Regions from separate parts of the Homo sapiens genome. Here region 2 is linked to region 1. The links are contacts of gene promoters, found by promoter capture Hi-C in blood cells and fetal thymus (Javierre and others, 2016). All regions are on one chromosome and are shown on one strand. The core of a region is centred on a gene start or on the middle of the fragment in contact, and the rest is flanking DNA. Distances in the headings are between cores, read along the strand shown. Region 1 holds the start of CPA1 (carboxypeptidase A1). Region 2 has its middle 5.1 kb from the start of TSGA13.

Region 1 (4,944 bases), core at 1-2,500:
CTCATAGCTGATGCCGTGGGACTCCAGAAAGATCTTGACCGCCTGGATGCTGGGGAAGGGCACTCGGACGTCGATGGGGGAGCCAGGGTGGGCAGGCCCCCGCCAGAAGTCCAGCTGGGGAGGACAAGAGCCGGCACGGTCACAGCGGGCTGGGGGCACCAGCCAGGACAGCAGGCAGGGACAGGGCCTGCGTGGGAGGGGCTGTTGGTGCCAGAAGTTCTCATATAATTGGGGATAGGTCAGGGGTAATAGGGCCAGAGAAATACGGGGAAACCCTGGGGACTGGAGAGTCCAGTGTGGTCAGGGAAATGGCCCAGGAGCAGAGTGAGGGGCCTTTGAGACAGCAAGGCAGAGGGAGGAACTGGAAAGGGGCCCGGCCCCTTGCCCAGGTGCTCAAGGGCAGCAAGGCTCTGGAGCTGGGGGCTTGAAGTCGCTTCCTAACAGAGTCAATTCCATGTCTCCTTGTTGGGTGGAGACAGCCCAGGCACAGTTGGCCGCTGGGGACCTGGGGTGGCCCCAGCTGATACCCTGGGGCCTCAGAGAGCCCTTCTCCCCTCTTCTGACCTGCAGGTGCTCCAGGTCCTCCAGCTCCTTCACCTTCTGTACCTGGGCCTCATCGGCTACAGAGATTCGGAGCACCTGATGCCTGGGCAGAGTGGGAGTGGGGAGTGAGCACCCAAGCTGCACCTGCCCTGGCCACAAGCACTCCCCAGGTGCAGGAGGGAGGCAGCAGCCCAGAATCCCCAGACTGGGCCTCGTCCTCTGGGCTGGGCAGGGGACAGCACCAAGGGTCTCAACAAGGAGAGGCCTGGGCTCCCTCACCTCTTCTCTCCCCATCTTTAGAAACTTCTAGACGCTGTTACTATCTCAATCCCAGTTTGGACTATTTCTCTGTTCCAAGCCAGCCAGGCCTCCTCCTTTCTCCTCTCCTGAAAACTCCTCCTCAGAGCTCAGGTTTCTCCAGGGCTCAGGAGACTGTCTTGGGAGACACAACCTCTTCCCAACCCTGGTTGCTTATCTGCCAGCTGTCCCAGGTGGTGCCAGGCCATCCTCTCTGGCTGTGTTGCCATGTATCTGTCTGTCTGTCTCCTCTACTGGTTGGGGGCTGAGTCCTCCCCATCACCCTCAGAGGGCACCCCCTCCTCTCCACATCCCTACCCCACAAAGTCCTCCTTGCCAAAGACAGCCCCCAACAGGACACTCAACACCAGCAACCCCCGCATGCTGCTGCCGGGAGGGAAGGTCAGACTGAGGTCGAGACGGCCCCCTGGCTTTTAAACCCTCCCAGGACCGAGGACTCCTGGCTGCTCCCGAGGTCTGTTCTCCCCCAGCACCTGGGTCCTGTCCCACGGGGAGGCTGGGGTGGGAGTTCTGAGCTCTGACACCCTCTCACCCTCCATGATAAAGTGGCAGGGAACTGGGCAGCTGGAGAGATAAGCCAGAGCTCCACCCCCGACCATCTGGGGCCAGCGGGGCCTGAGGGTCAGCGGGGGCTCGAGGCCTCCTGGAGTCCCAGCCAGGACTCTGCCTGCCCACACCCTAAAGCTGCGGTTCTGTTTGCCCACTGGGTAGCGGAGAAGGAGCCAGGACTCCAAGCAGCCACTCCTGCTGGGGCCTCATTCCAGGCGTCTCCTTGTTCCGTGCTCCTGAGTGCCAGCCTTTCATTCCGGTGATCGAGCAAGTGGGGCTTCTGCCCTCTCTTGTCCCCAAGGCAGCTTCAGGCAGGCCCAGGCTCTCCCCCATTAGACCTGTGTGAAGCACAGATACCTGCGGAGTGCCGGACACCTCCTCCTCCCACGGACCCTGATGCCTTGGAGAGACCAGCAGGGTGGACTAACCTTTTGCGTCGGTTTGGCCTGTCACCACACCGGCTTTGTCCAGGCTGCCCCGGCCCTGTGCGGGGCAGTCCCTCTGTGGGACTTCCCAGCCCCCTCCTGCTGGCCTTAGGGTCCTGTGGGAGTCCAGCCCGGGCAGCAGCAGCAGGGTCAGGAGCCCAACCCTTGCCAGCATTTCCCTCCACCCCCACCAGTACAGGGCCCCGAGGTCGGGGTTGCCCTTCATGGGAACAGTAACCAGATGTCGTCTGAATAGCAAGTGTGGCGGGGGGAGCCAGGGCCAGACCCCTGTGAGGACTGCACAGTGTCCAGGAGAAACTGGAACCCACACAGGGGAATTCACTGGGTTCTGGATGCTGATCTCACCCTAGAGACAAATCCATCACAAATCCCACAAATCCATCCTCATTCACGGGCCCCCCAGGGCTTTCCCAGCACCATCTAGAGGCTCTGCTCTGTGTCAGGACCCCGACCTTGGGCACTGGTGAGAGCCATAGTGCCCGTTCTAGTTTCTATTCACTCCCACTGCCTCCTACCCTACCCCCTAGCTGGCCAACCCTCCCACACCAAGACAGAGTGACCCCCTTATATTTATCCACAACTATCTCCCAAACCTAACTCTAGGAAGGTGAGAAAGCCCTAAACCCGCTTTTAACAGATGTGGAGCCTATGCGGCAGCTCCTGCTCTCCCCTGTACAGCCTTGCTGGCCCCACCCGCCTCTGGCAGGGCTGCAGTGCTCCCTGGAGCTTCTTCTGGCTGCTTCCTGGCTCACCTGTCTGCTCCTTCTCTAAATGCTCACCCCTTTGTCGATGTATTCAATCAATACTTATTCTTCTGGGCCAAGTACTGTGCTCCACATGGACACGACACCCAATACAGATGTTCGCTGACCTCAGGGAGCTCACGGTCTAGGCGGGAAGACAGAAGTAACCAACTAACTTGTTGGTCCTCTAACAGGTCCTCCAAGAAGCTGTCACCAATAAGGGATTAGACGTGCAAAGGACTTTTGGGGACTGTTCTCCTCCCTGCAAGAGACCTAAACAGGGATGTGATGTGGTATGAAAAGTACCATGAGGGCTAAAAGGACACACACTATGGCACAAAGTCCAGGGAAGACTTTACCAAGAAGGTGACATTTGACCTAGGCCTTTTTTTTTTTTTTAAGACAAGTTCTTGCTCTGTCACCCAGGCTGTGGAGAGCAGTGGCACCATCATGGCTCACTGTAGGCTCAACCTCCTGGGCTTAAGCGGTCCTCCCACCTCAGCCTCCCGAGTAGCTGAGACTATAGGTGTGCACCACCACACTTGGCTAATTTTAAAATTTTTATTGTAGAGATGGAGTCTCACTATGTTGCTCAGGCTGGTCTTGAACTCCTGGGCTCATGCAACCCTCCCACCTTGGCCTCCCAAAGTGTTGGTTGGGATTATAGGCTTGAGCCCAGCTTAACTTAGGTCTTATGATAGGATTTTGCCAGGTGGGGAAGGGTGTTCATCACGCTATTTAGTGCTTGAACACAAACTTACATTGATTTCTTCTTCGTTGCTCCTAAAATGTTATTTTTGTCTCTCCATGGAGACTGTAAACTTCCTTAGCTGGGCGTGGTGGCGCCTGTAGTCCCAGCTACTTGGGAGGCTGGGACGGGAGGATCTCTTGAGCCTGGGAGTCCAAGGCTGCAGTTAGCCATGATTGCCCCAGGCTGGGCAACAGAGTGAGATCCCATCTCTCTAAAAAGTTAAAAAGGAAATTAAAACATTAAAAAAAAATTAAATTACCCCAGGCCAGGAGCCATGTCTTCCCTACTCCTCATTTCCTGGTGCCCCACAGAGTCCTCGGGCTTCTCTACCCTGCTCCCCATGGGGAAGGAAGGTTTTGTAGGGTCTTTATTTAGTTTGCATTATAAAAACAATATTTCTTTTTCTATTCCTAAATATGAAGCTGTCCTATAATTTTGAATCTCTTTTGCTCACACTACACATGTTGGGGGATGTTGGCTGGTTCTTGGGCCTTCTGTGAATTCCTTCCAGAAAAGACGACACCTCTGAAAAAGAGGGCGGCCTGGGGGAGAGGGTGCAGACTCACCAAGGGAGCCTCTTGTACCTCCAGCCAGCAATTTACGATGCCCAAGAGTCATATAATATATTTTTTTGCAAGGCTGGAAAGGATGAATTCGATGCTACAAGTTCAGCAGAAAGTGGGCAGCATCATGGCAGAGGAATTTGGGTCTCAGGTGCGGGCTAAGCCTCATGCTTCGGGCCCCTCCCGGCCACCTCAGGAAGCCAAAAATGTACCTCTTGGTAAAGGCCAATTTGCTGGAATGTAACCTAGGTCAGAGGGCCTTCCCACTCCATGTGATGGTTTCACATTGGTCCAAGCAAGGCAAGGGCAAACATGGAGGCCACTGGGCCGAGGGCTGGGTAAGTATAGCACCAGGACCTATCACCATGAGAAAGAAGCCACCAGGCTGGGATCTAGATTCAAGAATGAGTCACGGGCAAGTGCCAGAACGCAAACAGTGGGAGGCCTGCAGCAGCCACGCTGACTGTGGCCCACAGCATCCCTCCCTGTTTCTTCCCTGCTAAATAAACCAGATTGTATGTCGGCATCCGCCCCCAGAAACACTGCCATTGCCAGCTCAGGGACAAATTCTGACTGGTCTAAGACAATTGAAGAGATCTCATTGGCTTTTGCAAGTCACTGGTTTAAAGGTGGGCACATGACCCAGCTTTACCAATCAGACATGAGAGGAGGCCCGTGAGGAAGCTTCTAGAAAAGGTTGCCCCACTCCCCAAAAGAGGGCACCTTTTTCTGGATACTGTCAGGTCTGTTGCCTCACCTTCAGACTATATATGTATATATATATGTTTATGTATATGTTTAGGTCTATATATATATATAGGTCATATATATATGAAAGAATATACATTTCTTTTTTGTTAGTTGGAGTTTCTGTTGTTGAAAAAAGCATTCTAATTGATGCACCTATTAAGCTTTTAAAGTGTTTGTATTTTCAGAAAAGGGGACCAATTCTAGCCTATCAGAGCCTTTATGTAAAATGCAGAAAGGCACCTGTTTTGGTCCATGTTCACACTGCTGATAAAGATATACCT
Region 2 (4,944 bases), core at 1,183-3,682, 310 kb before region 1:
TGTGTTTAAAGTTTTGGCCAGTGTTATAATTCAATGTATAGCTTGGTGTGAAATTTTAATATATGGGAAGATATACAGGGTAGTATGATTATGTATGATCCTGTATTGTTATTGCTGGCTATCACACCATGCAGAGTCTGGAGTTATTTGGAAAAACTAGAAGGACCAAGAAAATTTTAAAAATGTGAGGATGATGGGTACAAAAACGTTAGAAAGAATGAATAAGACCTTCTGTTTGCTAGCACAACAGGGTGACTATAGTCACTAATAACTTAATTGTACATTTTTAAATAACTAATAATATAATTAGATTGTTTGTAACACAAAGGATAAGTGCTTGAGGGGGTGGATACCCCATTCCCCATGATGTGATTACTTACTATGCTTTGCATGCCTGTATCAAAACATTTCATGTACTTCATAAATACATATGCCTACTATGTACCCACAAGAATTAAAGATAAAAAATTTAAAGAAAAAGTATGAGGTTGGGGAGAAGCTTCAAGATGCCAATAAATTAGTGGTAGTTGCTGGGGTCCACCTTTTGTGGGTAGACTCAATTATGACATTCAGTTGTGACTCAGTTGTGACACTACATCTCCCCTATCAGGGTAGAAACCTGTAATACTAACAAACTGTCTTCTTTGTTAGACAGAGGCATCTGAATTGATCATATCTATTTTCCTAAATCAGTCTGTCTTACAATTGAGTCCTTGATACTTGAACTTAAAAGCTAAGAATTTGCTACTTTTTTTTTCATATGATTGTTGGCCATGTGTATGTTTTCTTTTGTGAAGTGTCTGTTCATGTCCTTTGTCCACCCTTTTTTTTTTTTGAGATGGAATCTCGCTCTGTTGCTCTGTTGCCAGGCTGGAGTGCACTGGCGCAGTCTCGGCTCACAGCTTCCGACTCCCTGGTTCAAGCGATTCTCCTGCCTCAGCCTCCCGAGTAGCTGAGATTACAGGCACGCACCACCATGCCCAGCTAATGGGATTGTTTGTTTTTTCTTGTATATTAAGTTCCTTATAGATTCTGGGTATTATGCCTTTGTCAGATGCATAATTTTCAGTTTGCAAAAATTTTCTCCCATTCTGTAGGTTGTCTGTTTACTAAATTCAACATCACTTAGCATTAGATAAATGCAAATTAAAACCACAATGAGATATCATCTCACACCAGTCAGAATGGTTATTACTAAAAAGTCACAAAATAACAGATTCTGGCAAGATTGTGGAGAAAAAGGAATGCTTATACACTGTCCTCAAAGACCTAAAGACAGAAATACCATTTGATCCAGCAATGTCATTACCAGGTATATACCCAAAGGAATATAAATCGTTCTATTATAAAGACACATGCACATACATGTTCATTGTGGCACTATTCATAATAGCAAAGACATGGAATCCACCTAAATGCCCATCAGTGATAGACTGGATAAAGAAAATGTGGTACATATACACCATGGAATATTATGCAGTCATGAAAAAGAATGGGATCATGTCCTTTGCAGGGAAATAGATGAGGCTGGAGGCCATCATCCTTAGGAAACTAACACAGAAACAGGAAACCAAAAACAGTATGTTCTCACTTATGAGTGGGAGCTAAATGATAAAAACACATGGACACACAGAGGGAAACAACACACACTGGGGCCTATCAGAGGGTGGAAGGTGGGAGAAGGGAGAGGATCAGGAAAAATAACTAATGGATACTAGGCTTAATATCTGGGTGATGAAATAATCTGTACAACAAACCTCCATGACACATGTTTACCTATGTAACAAGCCTGCACATCCTGCACATGTACCCCTGAACTTAAAATAAAAGTTAAAAAAAAAGAGGAGGAGAAGACATGGGATTTCTCACTGCTGTCGGCAGAGAATGTCTGAATGGGGATGCATATCCACTGCTCCTTCATGTATCATCCCGCCATGTTGGAAACATTCAGAAATTTGCCATGTTGGGCATCTTCAGTCCCAGAGTTTTTCCTGAGACCACCTTCTATCCCTTGCTGTCCATCTTGTACATTTAAAACCTCATTTCCCCCCCACCCAGTTTTGTTTCTCCTTTGGTCCCCATTTTCCTGACACTCCAGTGCTAAATTGAATGTAAGTACTGAGTGGAGAGACAGCTTCCACTTTCGTAAGTAGATTTCCCCACATTTTTAATAGACAAATCTACAGAAAAATTGGATGGCCTTGATTCCTAATTCCCAGATTCCCAGCCTCCTGCTCTTCTCTGTATTCCTCCACTTCTGGCAGCTTCTTAGCTCCCTATTCTTGCCAGAGCAGCTATTGCTGCTGCTATATTCTACTCCTCATAAAATGCATTAGCCCTAAAAATCATTTTCCATTCATTCATCTCTGAATAATGCTAGCTTTGTTGAGTCTTGGTGTTGGTCAATACATGAGATTAATGAATTTATAAACTCTGCTCCTGCTTTCTTACCAGAGATGGAGGGCAGGTTGCTAGGCAAACCTCCCTGCCCAGTCCCCAGTTTCTATCTGGCTTTCATTTTTTGCTTTGCTGGGGAGATAACTTTCTCAAATTCCTACTTACATATTCTCTGGTATCTGAGTCTATGTAGACTATGTAAAATAACAGTTGTAGCATTCACTGTAGTCAGGATGTTGATTTAGGTTGGTGCAAAAGTAATATTTGAGGTGCCAATTACATCTCTTTCCCTTACCGGTTCTGAAGCAGTTAGTAAACACATGCAAAAATCTGGTAAGTTCAGAATATCAGCTTTCTGCTAGAAGTTGGTTTGGAGACTGGCTGGGGCCTGAACATACATTGGGCTTCCTAAAACATCCCCCTGAACTGGAAAGATTTACCCAGCCACTGATAAATGATAGGCCTCTCCTCAAGAAAGCAAGAGCTTCATGTGTCACCAGCAGGCTGTTTAAGAAAGAAAGAGTGGGCCGGGCACAGTGGCTCACGCCTATAATACCAGGACTTTGGGAGGCCGAGGGCAGATCACGAGGTCAGGAGATCGAGACCATCCTGGCTAACACGGTGAAACCCTACCTCTACTAAAAAAATACAAAAAATTAGCCAGGCGTGGTAGTGGGTGCCTGTAGTCCCAGCTACTTGGGAGGCTGAGACAGGAGAATGGTGTGAACCCAGGAGGTGGAGCTTGCAGTGAGCCGAGATCATGCCACTGCACTCCAGCCTGGGTGACACAGCAAGACTCCATCAAAAAAAAAAAAAAAAAAAAAAAAGGAAAGAAAGAAGGAAGGAAAGAAGGAAGGAAGGAAGGAGAGAAAGGAAAGAAGGAAGGAAGAGTGGCTAGGTATAGTAGCTCATGCCTGTAATCCCAGCACTTTGGGAGGCTGAGAGAGGAAGATTGTTTGAGGCCAGGATTTCAAGACCAGCCTGGGCAACACAGTGAGACCATGTCTCTTTAAAAAAAAAAAAAAAAAAGCTGGGCATGGTGGTGCATGCCTGTAGTCCCAGCTACTCAGGAGGCTGAGGTGGGTGGGTGCCTGAGCCCAGGAGTTTGAAGCTGCAGTGACCTATGATGATGCCACTGCACTTCAGCCTGGGTAACAGAATGAGACCCTGTCTGAAAATGCAAGAAAGAAAGACAGAAAGAAAGAGAGAGAGAGAGAGAGAGAGAGAGAGAGAGAGAGAGAGAGAGAAGGAAAGAAAGAAAGAAAGAAAGAAAGAAAGAAAGAAGGAAAGAAAGAAAGAAAGAAAGAAAGAAAGAAAGAAAGAAAGAAGAAGAAAGAAAGAAAGAAAAAGAAAGAATGAAAGAAGACAAAAATGGGGCAAACTACCCTTGCTTGGCATTCTGTGCCACTACCTTTTTTCATGAAGGGTAGATGCTTCTTTCCACACTTCCTTACTTTCCATACCAATACTTCCATAAAGGTAGCCGTTTCTATTTTATAAACAGTTAGAAATGAGAAAAGAGGACAAAACTGTTCAAAAAAACAGTTCCTCCCATCTTGTGCCCTTCCTCCTGCTCTTTGCTCCTGAGGTCACATCTCTCAGAATGCACTGTGCCACCCCAGCACCCTGTCCTCCCTGCCCAGCTGTTACCTGGGGTGTGAAGTCTCCATCTGAATGTGGAAAGTTATGTAGGTGAAGGGATAAGGGGGAGCTGTTCTTAGGCCCTGTCATAGATCAACACCCAAGGAGTAGTAGGCAGGGAGGATCGCCCTGAGTTTTGATCAATGCAGCCCCTGTATCTCTGAAAAAAGAAGACAAACAATGGGGATTCACATTCTCTTTTACCAGATGGTCTCTGTTTCTTCAAGCAAATCCTGGCATTTCCATGAACCCAAGCCTTGTAGGTTTTTTTCAGTCTAGATTTATCTGCCTTATAAGTGGCAGCATTGGATTGCTTATTAAGCTTTTGGTCATTTTTGCAAGTTTTAATCTTTTTCTATACCTTCAAAACTTGCTGCTTGAAGCTAAAAAATTTGTTTCCTTTTTCATAATAGCATCCCTTCCAATGATATCATCCCACCTGTGGCCACTTCCTCCTAGTTCTCTTTCAATCTCTGGCCACTCCTTTTCCATGTTCTTTACAAAATTCATTTATGATGCTCTTTTTTGGATGTTTACATAGTCTGGGGCATGGTTCTATGCTTTAGTCTCTTGTTAGTCCACCATTTTTCCTACTTGATCTTATCTAGTCCAATGGCTTCAATTAGCACATAATGCTTGAGGCTGACTTCCAAATGCATAATTCTACCCAAATGGCTTAGTCTGTTCAGGCTGCTATAACAAAATACCATAAACTGGGTGGATTATAAACAACAGGAATTTATTTCTCACAGTTCCAGAGGCCGGGAAGTCCAAAATCAAGGTGCTGGCACATTCAGTATCTGGTGAGGACCGGCTTTTTGTTGTGTCCTCACATGGCAGAAGGAGTAAAGATGTGCTTTTGAAGCCACTTCTATAAGTGCACTAATTGCCCCCACAAAGGCTCCA

The links. The method cuts DNA at HindIII sites, captures the fragments that hold promoters and counts their contacts. A CHiCAGO score of 5 or more calls a contact.
Region 2: a fragment that was not itself captured here is called in contact with the fragment with the promoter of CPA1 in region 1 in 1 of 17 cell types (endothelial precursors); the score reaches 5.7 in endothelial precursors.

The regions. Positions count from the first base shown.
Region 1 is chr7:130,376,800-130,381,743 of GRCh38, reverse strand. CPA1 (carboxypeptidase A1) reads right to left here and starts at 1,250. Exons shown (of 10, transcript NM_001868.4): 1 at 1,159-1,250; 2 at 565-646; 3 at 1-114. The coding sequence starts at 1,223. RefSeq lists an enhancer at 1,122-1,643. The HindIII fragment of the contact is 6,032 bases long and covers 1-4,599 here.
Region 2 is chr7:130,689,137-130,694,080 of GRCh38, reverse strand. No RefSeq gene overlaps it. Among named protein-coding and RNA genes, the nearest start is that of TSGA13, 5.1 kb to the right of the region's middle. The HindIII fragment of the contact is 3,861 bases long and covers 502-4,362 here.